Linked DNA regions of Homo sapiens: all the other regions are linked to region 3. Evidence: promoter capture Hi-C in 16 types of primary human blood cells and fetal thymus (Javierre and others, 2016). All regions are on one chromosome and are shown on one strand. The core of a region is centred on a gene start or on the middle of the fragment in contact, and the rest is flanking DNA. Distances in the headings are between cores, read along the strand shown.

Region 1 (4,196 bases), core at 769-3,268, 1.8 Mb before region 3:
GACCTAATTAAACAAAAGAGCTTCTGCACAGCAAAAGAAACTATCAACGGAGCAGACAGATAACCTACAGAATAGGAGAAGATATTCACAAACTATGTCAGATGACAAATGCCTAATATCTGACATCTATAAGGAACAAATACTTCAACAAACAAACCACAAATAACCCCATTAAAAATGGGCAAAGAACATGAACAGACACTTCTCAAAAGAAGACATACAAGTGGCCAACAGCCATGTGATAAAATGCTCAACATCACTAATCACCAGAGAACTGCAAATCAAAACCACAGTGAGACAGCATCTCATACCAGTCTGAATGGCTATTATTAAAAAGCCAAAAACAGCAGATGCTGGAGAGGCTGTGGAGAAAAGAGAACACTTATACATTCTTGGTGGAAATGCAAATTAGTTCAGCTACTGGACAGTAGTTTGAAGTTTTCCCAAAGCACTTAAAACAGAGCTACCATTAGACCCAGCAGTCCTGTTACTGAGATTTACCCAAATGAAAATAGATCGTTGTACCAGAAAGACACATGCACTCGTATGCTCATCACCATGCTCTTCACAATAGCAGAGGCACAGAATCAACCTAGGCGCCCATCAGTGGTGGATTAGATAAAGAAAATGCGGTACATAGACACTCTGTGATACTATGCAGCCATAAAAACAATAAAGTCTAAAGTCATGTCATTTGCAGTAACATGGATGGTGCTGGAGGCCACAAACCTAAATGAATTAATGCAGGGACAGAAAACTTTGTACCACATGTTCTTACTTGTAAGTGGGAGCTAAACATAGAGCACACAGGGACATAAACATGGGAACAATCGACACTGTGGACACTAGAGAGGGGAGTGGGTTGGAGAAATACCTCTTGGGTACTGTGTTCACTACCTGGGTGCAATATGCCCGTGTAATGAACATGCACAGGTACCCTCTGTATCTAAAATAAAAGTTGAAACAAAAAAGAAAAATGCTACCTCTATGTGACAACATTTTACTTGAAAGAATTTTTAACTAAAACGACTCTCTGCATTTCTTCCTCTCATCTTACTTGAATCACCTTAAATTATCCTGAAGTTATAAAATGTAGATGTGACGATGCATTGACTTTCCCAGATATTTAATTCATAAGATGCTACAACTAGATGACGCCAAGTGGATGGTACCGAATTTTAGTCGGTGACTGAACTGTCAAGAGTCTTTTGATGTGCCTATCAACTCACTGCACTCAAATGGGCAACTAAGACAGTATCTACTTTCACATGCATCCTTTACTGAATATAAAAATGTCATTTAAAAGTTTTAATTAAAACAAAAATAAAAATAAGAGGGCCTACAGTTAAAATTGCTCAGGAAAGGAAGGTCATTGGTCCTAATAATTATCCCTATTTGTAAAATGTCAGCACAGCCCTTCATGCCAGTATCTTTTGGACCACAATCAGCATTGCTCGGCTCAGTGCCCTGACAGCAGGGGGCGCTGCAGAGCAGGGGCTTCAAATTGAGGGTGCTCTGTTCCCCCTCTTCCAGCACAGAGGATGCTTGGTCTGATGAGAGCAGTTTCACAATGACAGAATGCACTTTCTTTTTCTTTTCGCAAACAAAACTTTTTTTTTTTTTGTTTGTTTGTTTGTTTTGAGATGGAGTCTCACTCTGTCACCCAGGCTGGAGTGCAGTGGCATGATCTCAACTCATTGCAATCTCTGCCTCTCAGGCTCACGTGATTCTCTTGCCTCAGCCTCCTAAGTAGCTGGGATTACAGGCGCCCACGACCATGCCCGGCTAATTTTTGTATTTTTAGTAGAGACAGGGTTTCACCATGTTGGCCAGGCTGATCTCAAACTCCTGACTTCAGGTGATCTGCCTGCCTTGGCCTCCCAAAGTCCTGGGATTACAGGCATAAGCCACCACGCCGGCCCAGAGCTATTTTTTGATCAAATTTTTTTTCAGTCCATCAGCAGACAAGAATGTGTTAATGTTCTTCCAGGCGCCCAGAACATCACTGTATGTTACGAGCAATGCAGCAGCTTTAACTCTAGATGCCAGAGCTGCCTTCAAACAGGAGCAGCCGCTGGATCTTAAACCATCCTAAAAATACCTCTTCAACTATTCCATTTCCTCTACTGCAGGAAAAAAGGAAAAGCACACAGGATTTGTGTGATTAAATACAGCTGTTGATGTAATAATAATAAACAAAACAAAAAAATACAAAACCTTCCAGGTAGGACCTTTTCATTCACCTACTCTGCTTGTGAAATTCTTACTAAATGTACATGCCTTGTTCTAGAAATGCCTATTGCCTTATGTATTCACCTTTTCTTGCAGAGAATAGATAAACATGTCTCCACAATATGAATTTCCATGAAAACCAGACAAATGCAATCACAAGATGTCCATCATGGAGATGTCTCCACTAGCTGGGACCCAGTGATCTTTAGACCTAACTTGATTCAGGTCCTAATCTGTGGCACTGAGTCTCATAGTCTTTACACACGTCCAACTAGTGTTTCAAGTAAGTTGAAATACGGACGTCTAATCTTACATGGGAAAGAATGGAGCTTTCTAGCCTGTGGGATGACATCTCCAAGGCACACGGTCTACTTGCTAGAGTTGAGCTGATGTCCAAAGGGCGTCGAGGTCCAGGTTTCAGGCTCTCTTTTCCTCAGTGTCCTTGGCACAGCTACTGCCTGCCTGGCCTGCCCTGGCCCTAGAGGGTGGAGCGAATCTGCAGACCCGGCCTGTGACCTAGCAGGAGCTTGCGGCCCGTGGGAAGACAGGCCGTCTTGGCAGGTGGTACCCAAGAGGTGACACAGCCATGCTGCAGGGCAGAGTGTGGCACCGAGCTCCATGGACGCAGGCAGCTGGAGAGTGGTAGGAAGGGCCGCGGACTGCCTGCAGGAGGAGAAAACTTCACCAGGGAGCGGCCTCTGCTCAGGTAGAGAGGCCATGGGGAAGTCGGGCAGGTGGAGGGAAGAAGGGAGCTCTGCAGGCGGGCGTGGTGGGGCTGGAGACAGAGGGCCAGGGAGGTGCACTCCAGAGGAGTCATGAAGGAGAGAATGAGCTGAGTCTGCAGCTGCCCAGGCAGTCAGGGGAGTTGTCTGTGTGGCCAGGAGGGCAGGGAGCAAAGAAGAGGAAGTGCCAAGATGATAGGAAGGTCTGAGCGCTGGAGAATTTGGAAGCTGGGAATAATCAAAAGGAGAACATGGGCAGAGCCCATTTGGGGGCTGGTAACCTGACAGGATTAGGCCCCCAAGGGTGGGGTGTGTTGCCTGGAGACACAGCAAAGGTGGAGATATAATAGGCCAGGGGTTGGCAACTTTTTCTGGAGAGGATTTTGTAGCAAATGTTTCGGCTTTGGGAACTGCGCGATTGTTTTTGTGGCCACTTGGCTCTGCCCTGCACTGTGGGAGCAACCGCAGCCTGCCCGCCAAGCCCTGAGGGCAGCCAGGTGCCAACGGCACCCTATGCATGGCATGGAAACAGAATTTCACACAGCTTTTATAGATCAGAAAATATTATTTGTCAATTGTGCTTTTCTGCAATTCTTTAAAAATGTCAAAGCCATTCTTAGCTCACCATGCAAAACAGGGTGGGTGGGCTGTGGCTTGGAGTTCCCGGGAGAGGGCAGGGCCCAGACACCCAAGTGGATGCTCAGTCCTCCTCCCCTCAGCCCCTCTGTCAGCCTGCGTGGATTTCTATTTCCTATAGACAACGTGAAGCCCCTTCCTCAGCAGCCCCCGCAGCTTTCCCTGTTCTTCCTTCTCACGGGTCTCCGTCCTGGCCTCCAGACCACTGGCTGTGCTCACCATCCTGTGTGTTTCCCTACTTTTGCATGATTTCTGCTCAAACTCTACGATCTTACCTAAAGTTTGCCACTTTGGTAAAGCACACGCTAATCCTGCAGGCAGAGGGACTCCTCACTTCACTGGGCAGCAGTGTGTGTTTCACTATCTTGTGTATCCTGAGGGAAGGCATGATAGACTGACAGATGGATAGGCAGACACACAGACAGACACATAGACAGACACAGATTGACAGATGGACAGCAAGCACTGGTGTGCTGTGTCTGGAAGGATGCAGCTGGTGAAGTGAAGATTTTGTGAGTGGTTTGATCACAGCTGGTGTGATTTAAGAGATGATTCTCCAAGGCTGTAGGGAAGGTCCTATGTTTTATTTCATTCTGTATCTCCATG
Region 2 (4,338 bases), core at 1,659-4,158, 1.8 Mb before region 3:
TAAGAATACAGAAATATACATTTTCAGATTCCTTACGCTCTCTTCAAGCCTTGTGGTGAAATACTTCGCACATCTCTGAATGTGTCCCATCCTTCCTGTTCAAGGCAAAATCAAAGCAGTTCTCTGAGGAGAAGGCGAGTGCCTCAGTTTCCCTCCCGGCCTCACTGCCGTTCTGTCTCTGTCCCCAAGCACTGGGCCAGGAGGCAACCAGACTTTACTAAGGGTGGATGTCCGGGGATCGATGAGCGGAAGCAGATCGTGTTTGATAATCAGATTATTGCCAGGAAAGAAATCTCCTCTAGAAGACCTTCATTCCGATTCTTTCTTGACCTAGTGATGCCACACCTAAGCCTCGGCCTGCTTTGTTCAAGGGTCCAGTGAGGAAGAATTAACTCGCTGCTCCCTCTCCCACCCCAGGGCTCTGCACTCTTAGTGCAGCTGTGCTGGTGAACTTCTCTACCCTTGAAAGTGGGCCCCTATCTCTCTGTTCATGTGTTACAGGAAAAACGCATTATTTAATCTTATTTAAATAATCCCCAGTAGTTATATCTTAACAAAGATGTACACTTCGGGTTTCTGGAGTACAGTTCTGTCCACGTGCACATCTGCGGTGAGGTTGAGGGCTGCAGTGATATTGAAAGTCTCTTTGGCCGCCTGATTCCCGGGTATTTTCAGTGATGTGCAGGGGAATGCTGTACTCTCAGGTGAGTAGCACATTTGGAGAAGAAATCTTTGTGATGGAATTTCCAAATTTTGTAGTTATTTTAATTCCCAGAAAATCGGATTCTGTGGGCCCCTCTCGCTGGGGGTGGCAACAGACTCAGGGCGTGGGCCTGAGCCCCAGAGTCTGGGAGAGTGAGAAGGGGTGGGTCTTGGCATCCTCGTCTGTCAACACCTACTGCCTGGTGATGCGTCCACGCGTGGCCTTCGTGCCATCCGTGCCCAGGACTCCGAGTCCAGCCTGAGAACAGGCCCCCAGAGCACCCCCACACATGCACGACATCCCTCTCCTCCACTCTCCACACAGCTCCTGCAGGGACCCTGACCCCCCCGTCCATCTGGGGCTCCTGAGCCCGCGCCTACCCCTCACCCCGGCAACCTTTCCCCATGGCCCGTGGCCAGAGTGGACCTCTGGGTGACTCTCCTGGATGCTGTTCGCCCACACTGAGTCCCCGCAGCTGACCCTATGCGTGCCGCCATTGAAACCTCAGCACCTGCTGCCTCCCATCCCAGCCCTGCACCCCACTGCCAGGGCTCCGGACTGGCCTCTAACTGCAAGACATCGGGGAGATTTGAGAAGCAACGTCTCACTCAGGACAGAACTAAAGTCCTGCCAAGACCAGTGACCTCAGGTGATCTGATGCCTATGCAGCTCTGCTGCTCTAGAACTTTCTCCCTGCCCCTCCTCTGCTGGCATCCCGATGTCTTCTAAGCATGCTGGGACTATGTGTCCGCCGTCTCCCCAAATGTCAGACCAGGGGAGGACGCAGACATGGCTTGCTCACCCTGCTGGAGACTCAAGCTGAGTCTCCTTATGACCAGGGTCCCACGGGAGGACCACAGCTCAGAGAACACCACACAGTCAGTCCGTGGTTCTGTAGGATAAATTATAACCCTGCAGCAGAAAAACCCACTCCGCAAAGCCCTTCAGCATCTAAGCTCTGCCTATCATCACCCTAGCTCTGGGGAGACCCCCGTGGTTGCAGCTGCATAGGTGAGGAAGGAGCCCTCATGGAGAACACAGGCTTCAGAATGCCTGGATTCCTGGTGCTGGAGACTTTTATCACTTGTTGGCTATGATGGAAGCTGCAAAAACACATTTTCCCCGAAATATGATGCAGCGATTAAAAATAAGATATATGACTTATATGCTAAGCAGAAAAGCAGGTTTCAATCACATTGTGATTGCACAAAAATGCAAACATATCTGTGAGAGTGGTGAGTTTATACATATTTTTTCTTTTTTCCAAGTCTTTTCTTTCTCAATTTTTTGAGCTTATATTAGGTTTATGTCCAAAAAGTCATTGAAAAACTTCCTTGCTCGACTGATATTTTCTCCCCTTTGCTAAGAGGATGCATTTGTGCCAGAAGCAGGTGCTTTTATATATCAGGTAGATTTTTTATCCTTGTTCAGTAAGAGTGCATGATGAACGCCATCAGCACTTGGCCAAGGGAGAGGGACATGAACGGTGAGAGCTGAGGAATGGGACCTGGCTGCTCGCACGCCTGTGCTGGGACAGGCAGGGGTTCCGGGCGCGGCCATGGCTGTGAGCAGTTCTGCTGAACTCTGCTTGCTCTCAGTTGGCTCTGAGACCAAAAATTGCCTAAAATAGGTCACCTGTTTGTATCCTAAATTGTAGAAAAAAAAAATGCATGATAATGACATCTTCCTAATTCAACATGAAAACTAACTGGGACCAGGGAAGTGCTGGGGTCCCCCTCCGTGGACTAAGCTTTTCTCTGCAGGTAGTGCTAATTAATGCATCAGCAAGCTTGGGAGAGAAATATCGAAGATACAGGTGGAAACAGGCTTCCAAGAACTTGAAGGCCCCAATTATTAGCCATGTATGTGTTAATTACGTCGGGTTTATTTAGTCACTGAAGGAGGTGGCCTGTGGCCCTCTCTTTGATAACACCTGATTAACTAAATGTGAATTTCTGCCCATGCTTGAAAGTAATCAAGTTGCATGGTTTTTCACAATAGTGTAACTGAGTCTTTCCAGTAACTTCTATTGAGTGCTGCCCCAGTGCTCGTCCCAAACAGTGAGGTTTGCACTCATCTCACCGTGCAGCTTGCAGGTATTCCATTCTGAAAATGGTAACACTGACATTTACTTCACATTTAATCTGTCTACAAACTGCATTAAACAAAAAAAGATACCAGTATATTAATAAAAAATTATTAAACTGTTTGTCAGTGGCTTAGTAGTATAAGCCAGATGCTTAAAAAATATAAACTGTTCAGTTTCAGAAATGGAATATTCCTACACGTTTGTTAGAATGTAATTCTAATTAGAATTAAGATAATTTCTCTTGTTCTTTGTGTAGTAAAAACCACACAAAGAACAATATAAAATAAGTGTAAGGTTCTCTTGGGCACTGTCCAGTGTGTACACCTGCTTGGTGTATGTGGGCATTTAAGTTTGAATTAATGAAGATGAAATACGATCAAGAATGCACTTCCTTAGCCACGGCAGCCTCATTCAAGCAGCTTGTGACTTTCATGTGGGACAGCACAGAACAGGCAACTTCATCCCAGAAAGCTCCATCGGGCATTTCAGGCTCTCATTTCCATAACCAAGTCACATTTTATTTTAATTATTAGAAAGCTTTTTCTTAAAAACATCAGGTAAGTGTGGGATGTCCAACCTCTTTACATTCTTATAATATTCTCAATTTCTCTTTGGAGGTAGACGAGATGTCTCCATCTCTCATTCATGAATAGAAACATGTAATCACCTGTAGAACCTAGGGACTTTTAAAATGTCATTAAATGGAATTGACTAGTGTCAGAAACAAACCTCTTTCTGTAAAAATGCAAAAAAACAATACAAGAGAAGAGAAGAGAAGTAATTTCCCTGAGTCACCACCCCTGGAAGGCCACAGATCACATGTAAGAGAGAGCACAGCAATAGGTTGAAATTGCAGACGTGGCTGTGAGCTTTCCTGCTTCCCCGGCCCCTGTGCACCCAACGGCCCTTGAGTTCCTTCAAAGCCTTTCACTCAAGAAAGCGCCTGGGAGAGAACGAGTCTCTCCTGAAATGGCCAGGAAATCCCAAATCCTTGTCAATCATTTCCCAAAGGGAGCATCTACTTTATTTCCAATTTCATTCATTTTGCTCCAGGGAACTATAAATTAGTGAAGTGTTTACTAGATTAAAACCTCAGATGTACAATTAAAGGACAACATAACCTCCTCATTCTGACTAGACTCTCCCATCACAGAGTGCTGGCTTCTCATCCTTCTTGCTGCCCAGAGTCAGATGTGGGGGCCCATGAAGTCCAAGAAAGCTCACTTCTCAGAGCCACTCCAGAGGAGCCCAGAATTCCTCCAAATTAGAAGAGGCCAAATTTAATTAGGTGTGAAATATGAAGAGACCTCAAACAATGTAACATGTCTCATGAAAGGAAATGTGTCCATCTTTGAAACCTAGACCAAAAAATAACAAAAAATGTGTGTGTGCAAAGTAATAATATATATTTATAGTTTAGTAATATATGTGTATATATATTTTAAATAACTTTAAAACTTCAGTACTTACAATTATAAGGACAATAAATTCTTCCTTCTGTTCATGTGTGACAGGAATACTGTATATATTAAAAAGTCATCCGGAA
Region 3 (4,847 bases), core at 935-3,434:
GAGGAAGAGGTGGGAGGTTGTTGTGCCTGAAGAGTGGACATTTCCTCAACATCAGGTCCCCACCTAGTGAGCGGGACACCCACTTCAGCCAGGGGCTGCGCAGGGGTCGGGAGGAGCCCGTCCAGGCAGCCAGCACCTCCATCATCGCAGGCTGATCTCCTTGCCTCCTGGGAGCCCAGGGAGGCCGGGGATGGCGGCATTATTCTGAGGGTGCTCCAGCCCTTTCCATGAGAATCCTCATGTCTTGGCAGGACCAAGGCAGGAGGGTTGAAGCCCCTACGGAGCTCCGAGAACAGCCTCACGTCTGGCTCAGGCCACTGCTCTGGGACCACCTCTCTGCCAGCTCTTGTTCTCCTCCCGCCCCACAGATGGGTCCACAGGACGTCTGCTGTGCCACGATGGAAAGTTCTGTAGCTGTGCAGCCCAGCCTGTCGCCTCTGCCGCATGTGGCTGTTGGGCACTAGAAACTTACCTCATAAGACAGAGCATCCAAACTTTTAACTTCACTAAATTAAGTTGATTTTAGCGTTAGAGAAGTATTGAATTTAGCATAGCTAGTGGCTGCCACGTCGGATGGGGCAGCTAGCTGGCAGAGCCCTGTGCTCAACCTCTGGCCATGGCCCAGCAGCCCCAGCATCGCCCTGGAGCTTGGAGAAATCTCAAGCCTCAGGCCGTATCTCAAATCTGCAGCGTCAGAATCTGCACTTTAACCAGCTCGTAGGTGATTTGGAAGCACATTAGATTGTAGGAGCCAGCTCGGTGTGGAGGGCAGAGGTCAGGGTGTGGAGGGCAGGGGTCAGGGTGTGGAGGGCAGAGGTCAGGGTGTGGAGGGCAGGGGTCAGGGTGCCTTCTTCCATGGCTTTATCGGTGCCACAGCCTAGGCTTAGCGAAACCACGAGGATAAAAATAGGCCCTTCTGTTCTCCGCACCGTGAGCTTTGTGACTGATCCGAGGCGGCGAGCGGGGGCACTGCACTGCTGTGGCGGGGAAGTCACGGCTGACAAGAACTGCCAGGGACGAAGCCACGTGCATTAATTCATTAAAATACAGTCAGCTATGGAAGGCAGCATAGGATGTGGTTTCGTTCTTAAAGAATTTCATCTGGATGGGCAGACAGATGTGTAAACATGGACTCAAAGGCCGGGCGAGCTGAGATCAGACAACAGGCGCTGGACGCATCCTAACTACGGCTGGGTGGCGGGGCTGAGAGACGGGCTGGGGTTGGGGGTGGGGTTCTCAGTTGGAGGTGGCCTTGAGCCGGCCTTTCAAATGGCTTTGCTTTCCTCTGGGAAAGCTGGAGTTCAGGAGGAGAAGGCCGGTCAGGCCCTGGGGAAAGAAAACCCAGGAAGGAAAAAGGAGCGTGTGGGTGATGGATCTCCCTGGGACGCAGGTTGTCTTTCTGGAGCCCCAAGGGCCCCTGTGCGCGCCATCTGCTGTGCTGGGTTCTGGTTCCAGCTCAGTCCCTCCCTGCGCAGGTGACCTCGGGTGGCTTTCCTGCCTTCAAGGCCCCAGCTGATTCATCTGCAGAGTGGATAGCTTGCCCCGCAGGGTGGCTGTGGTGAAGCAAGGCAACGTCTGTTACTGCATGTCGAAGCCGGGCTCAGCTGTTTCTTTCTGCATGGAAAGTTCTTCTGCAGACAGTGGGGCCTTTGAAGGCAGGCGGCACGTGTTGTTTTGTATGCCACAGGCCTAGCATCCACTTGGCAAGGTGCCCTTTCTTAAGCATCTGTGGGCTTCTTTAAATTCCATGAAAATTTTGTGTGTATTTACTTTTTCTGGGGCTGAGGGGCTCTAGCCAAACCCTCCCAAGGGCCCCTGTCTTCTCTAGTAGGTCAGGACCCACTGCTGGGTGTGCTCAGTGTTTTCTGAGTTAATGATGATTAGTGAATAGGTGACGTCTAGAGATAAAACTTTAAGTCAGGTTACTGGCCGGACCAGGAAGGTGGGGGTTTCAGGCCCAGGCCAGTGGCCGGAGGCAGCTTTGTTAGGGACAGGGAAGGGCCCTGGGACCAGCAGGGACCATGTCTGGCTTCGGGCCTTGTGCGAGGGTCTTGCAGAGGCCTGCTTGGCTTCTCCGGGGAGGGGCTGCTCCCCCTGTTACTTCCACCTCTCTGCAACCCTTGTGACATCATACAGGCACAGCCAATCTCTGCAAAGTTCTGTCTCTACCTCAGGCCCCTATACATTCTCTCTGAGCTGGCACTCAAGCACCGTGGGACCTTGGCTGGCTTCTGGGGAGCAAGAGATCCATTTATGAATACTTGATTTCTGACTGCTGGGTGAGCTGGAGTGTGGTTTATAAATACCTTGCTATCTTTAAGGTGGGCTTTGCCAAAAGAATAGGGTGACAGAGATGAATTTCAGTCATGCAACGAACCCTCGACACTTGGAAGGTGACAGAGGGTAGATGGTGACAGACACCACTTTGTGCCGTTGAACTGTGTTGGTACCGGGCGTGGCCCAAACACCTGGAGGGGCCCCACAGGTGGGTCAGGCTTCTGGGCTCTGGTCACTGCTCTGTTTGGTTTCAAATCATGTGACTTTGGCCTTCTTAAAAAAAAATCTAAAGAGGCTGGGCATGGTGGCTCATGCCTGTAATCCCTGTACTTTGGGAGGCCGAGGTGGGTGGATTGCTTGAGTTGAGGAGTTTGAGACCAGCCTGAACAACATGGCAAGACCCCATTTCTACCAAAAATCAAAAAAATAGCCAGGCATGGTGGTGCGTGCCTGTGGTCCCAGCTACTTGGGAGGCTGACATGGGAGAATTGCTTGAGCCCGGGATGGGATTGGGGTGGAGGTTGCAATGAGCCAAGATCATGCCACTGTACTCCAGCCTGGATGACAGAGTGAGACCCTGTCTCAAAAAAAAAAAAAAAAAAACCTAAACAACTAAGGCCATGGTGAAGTAAACCTATATTCAAAACAAGAGTCACAAAGTAGAACTAAATGTAAATATATACCAAGAGTTGCCGGTAGTCAGGAGTCTCGTGCAGTTGACCTTGGGCTGCTCAGAGTCCCTGCTCAAGGTCACTCTAATTTTGTCCCAAATTTGAACAAACCACTTTTATTATTTCACCATAAATCTCATACTTTTGGCCAAAGGCTTCTTCGGAACTTATTGACAGCGATGACAAAGCCCCTGAAGGTTTTCTTCTTTACGAGGGAGTAACTCTTCCATCAGCACAGCCTTCCCTGCTTGTCAGAGGGAGGTCTCTCTTTCTTGTGCTTCCTAGACTTGCCTGGTCATGCCTTTTCTTATTTTAAGGCTAATCTCAAAAGAAAAAATAGTGTGAGCACCACTTGACTGCCTGAAATTTCATGACTCTATTTTAGAGAGTCATTGCCTCATCGCCTTGCCGTAACCCATGACAATGCTCCTCATTTGCGGTGATTAAGTTGAAATTTGCAGGTAAAACTTTAGCATGTTCCTCAAACATCAGAGCTGACCCTGGGTCTGGTCTCAGCCACAGCAGAAAATGTATTTAAGAGCTCCCTTGAGCAGGCAGTGGGAGGGGTTGCAGCAATGAGCTTAGAAGCAGCTGCCACAGGCTGTCTGAGCACTGTGAGCTGCTGAGCTGGTGGCCTCAGCCGAGGTCGCGTGGCTCCTTCCTTTCTTGCCTAGACCTTGGCTATTTTATCAACAGAAACGGCAGGGACCAGTGAGCAGAGAGCTCAGCAAGCTCATGGCGCAAGAGTCGTGGAGCTGTGACCTCCACCAGGGCTGAGAACGGCCCCTTATACCGCCAGCTCTTGGCTGCCTGGAATCTCTCGGGAACCTCCACGGGGCCCTGCACAGCACAGGCCACTGTGGATACTTCTGGGATTTGTGGCTGAGGAGAGAAACTTAGGAAAGACAAATGTCACGGCCCTTTCACAGCAGACACTGGTTGGGCCTGTGCTGTGGCCTGGAGGCCCAGCTTTAAACGGTCTCTCCTTTCTCACATTTTTTTATCTTAGGGGTGGGGAGACTTTTCACATAACAGCCTTTGAGGTTGTGGGGTGCTATGGTTTGGATGTTTGTCCCCCCAAACCTCATGGTGCAATCAGATCCCCCGTGTTGGAGGTGGGGCCCAGCGGGAGGAGTCTGGGTTATGGGGGCGGATCCCTCATGAATGGCTTGGTGCCGTTCTGGAGGTGGTGAGACGGTTCTTCCTCTGTTAGTCTGGTGAGAGCTGCTTGTTAGGAGGAGCCTGGCGTCCCTCCCACGCTTCCTCTTCTGCCCTGTGGTGGCTGCACGCCGGCTCCCTTCACTTCCTACCAGGAGTGGAAGCAGCCTGAGGCCCTCGCTGGAAGCATATGCTAGCGCCGTGCTTTCTGTACCGCCTGCAGAACCATGAGCCAAGTAAACCCCTTTTTTTAATGAATTGTCCAGCCTCAGGCATTCCTTCACAGCGACACAAATAGGCTAAGACACTGGGAGAACACAGAGAATAAATTTTGCGATATTTGGGGAGATGATGCTGCCTTTACTGTTATTATAAATAAAGTTTCGGTGCCGCCAAAGAAACAGCCCTTGAATATCAATTTTTTTTTTCTTCTCGGCAAGACCATTTACTGCTATAGAAGGGTGTGCCCTCACAGATGGAGCAATGGCGCACACCTGGACAAGGGAGGGGACGGGGTTCTTATTCCTGACGCACGTGGCCCCTGCTGCTGTATCATTCCCCTATTGGCTAGGGTTAGACCGCACAGGCTAAACTAATTCTGATTGGCTGATTTAAAGAGAGTGATGGGGTGAGTGGTTTGGTGGGAAAAATGGTTATGGCAGAGCAGGAAAACGGAATGAGTCAGGGTGGGGCAGGAAATCGGAATGAGTCAGGGTGGAGCAGGTGATCGGAATGAGTCAG

Evidence for each region. The method cuts DNA at HindIII sites, captures the fragments that hold promoters and counts their contacts. A CHiCAGO score of 5 or more calls a contact.
Region 1: a fragment that was not itself captured here is called in contact with the fragment with the promoter of ALLC in region 3 in 2 of 17 cell types (M2 macrophages and total B cells); the score reaches 5.1 in M2 macrophages.
Region 2: a contact is called between a fragment that was not itself captured here and the fragment with the promoter of ALLC in region 3, in 4 of 17 cell types (M0 macrophages, M2 macrophages, endothelial precursors and 1 more). The highest score is 7.5, in M0 macrophages.

The regions. Positions count from the first base shown.
Region 1 is chr2:1,895,841-1,900,036 of GRCh38, forward strand. All of the region lies in intron 14 of MYT1L (myelin transcription factor 1 like), which reads right to left. Among named protein-coding and RNA genes, the nearest start is that of PXDN, 150 kb to the left of the region's middle. The HindIII fragment of the contact is 8,246 bases long and covers 1-4,196 here.
Region 2 is chr2:1,875,440-1,879,777 of GRCh38, forward strand. The region is part of intron 18 of MYT1L (myelin transcription factor 1 like); the gene reads right to left. Among named protein-coding and RNA genes, the nearest start is that of PXDN, 130 kb to the left of the region's middle. The HindIII fragment of the contact is 837 bases long and covers 2,491-3,327 here.
Region 3 is chr2:3,656,016-3,660,862 of GRCh38, forward strand. It overlaps ALLC (allantoicase), which reads left to right and starts at 2,185. Exons shown (of 12, transcript NM_018436.4): 1 at 2,185-2,279. RefSeq lists a silencer at 4,054-4,330. The HindIII fragment of the contact is 6,896 bases long and covers 1-4,847 here.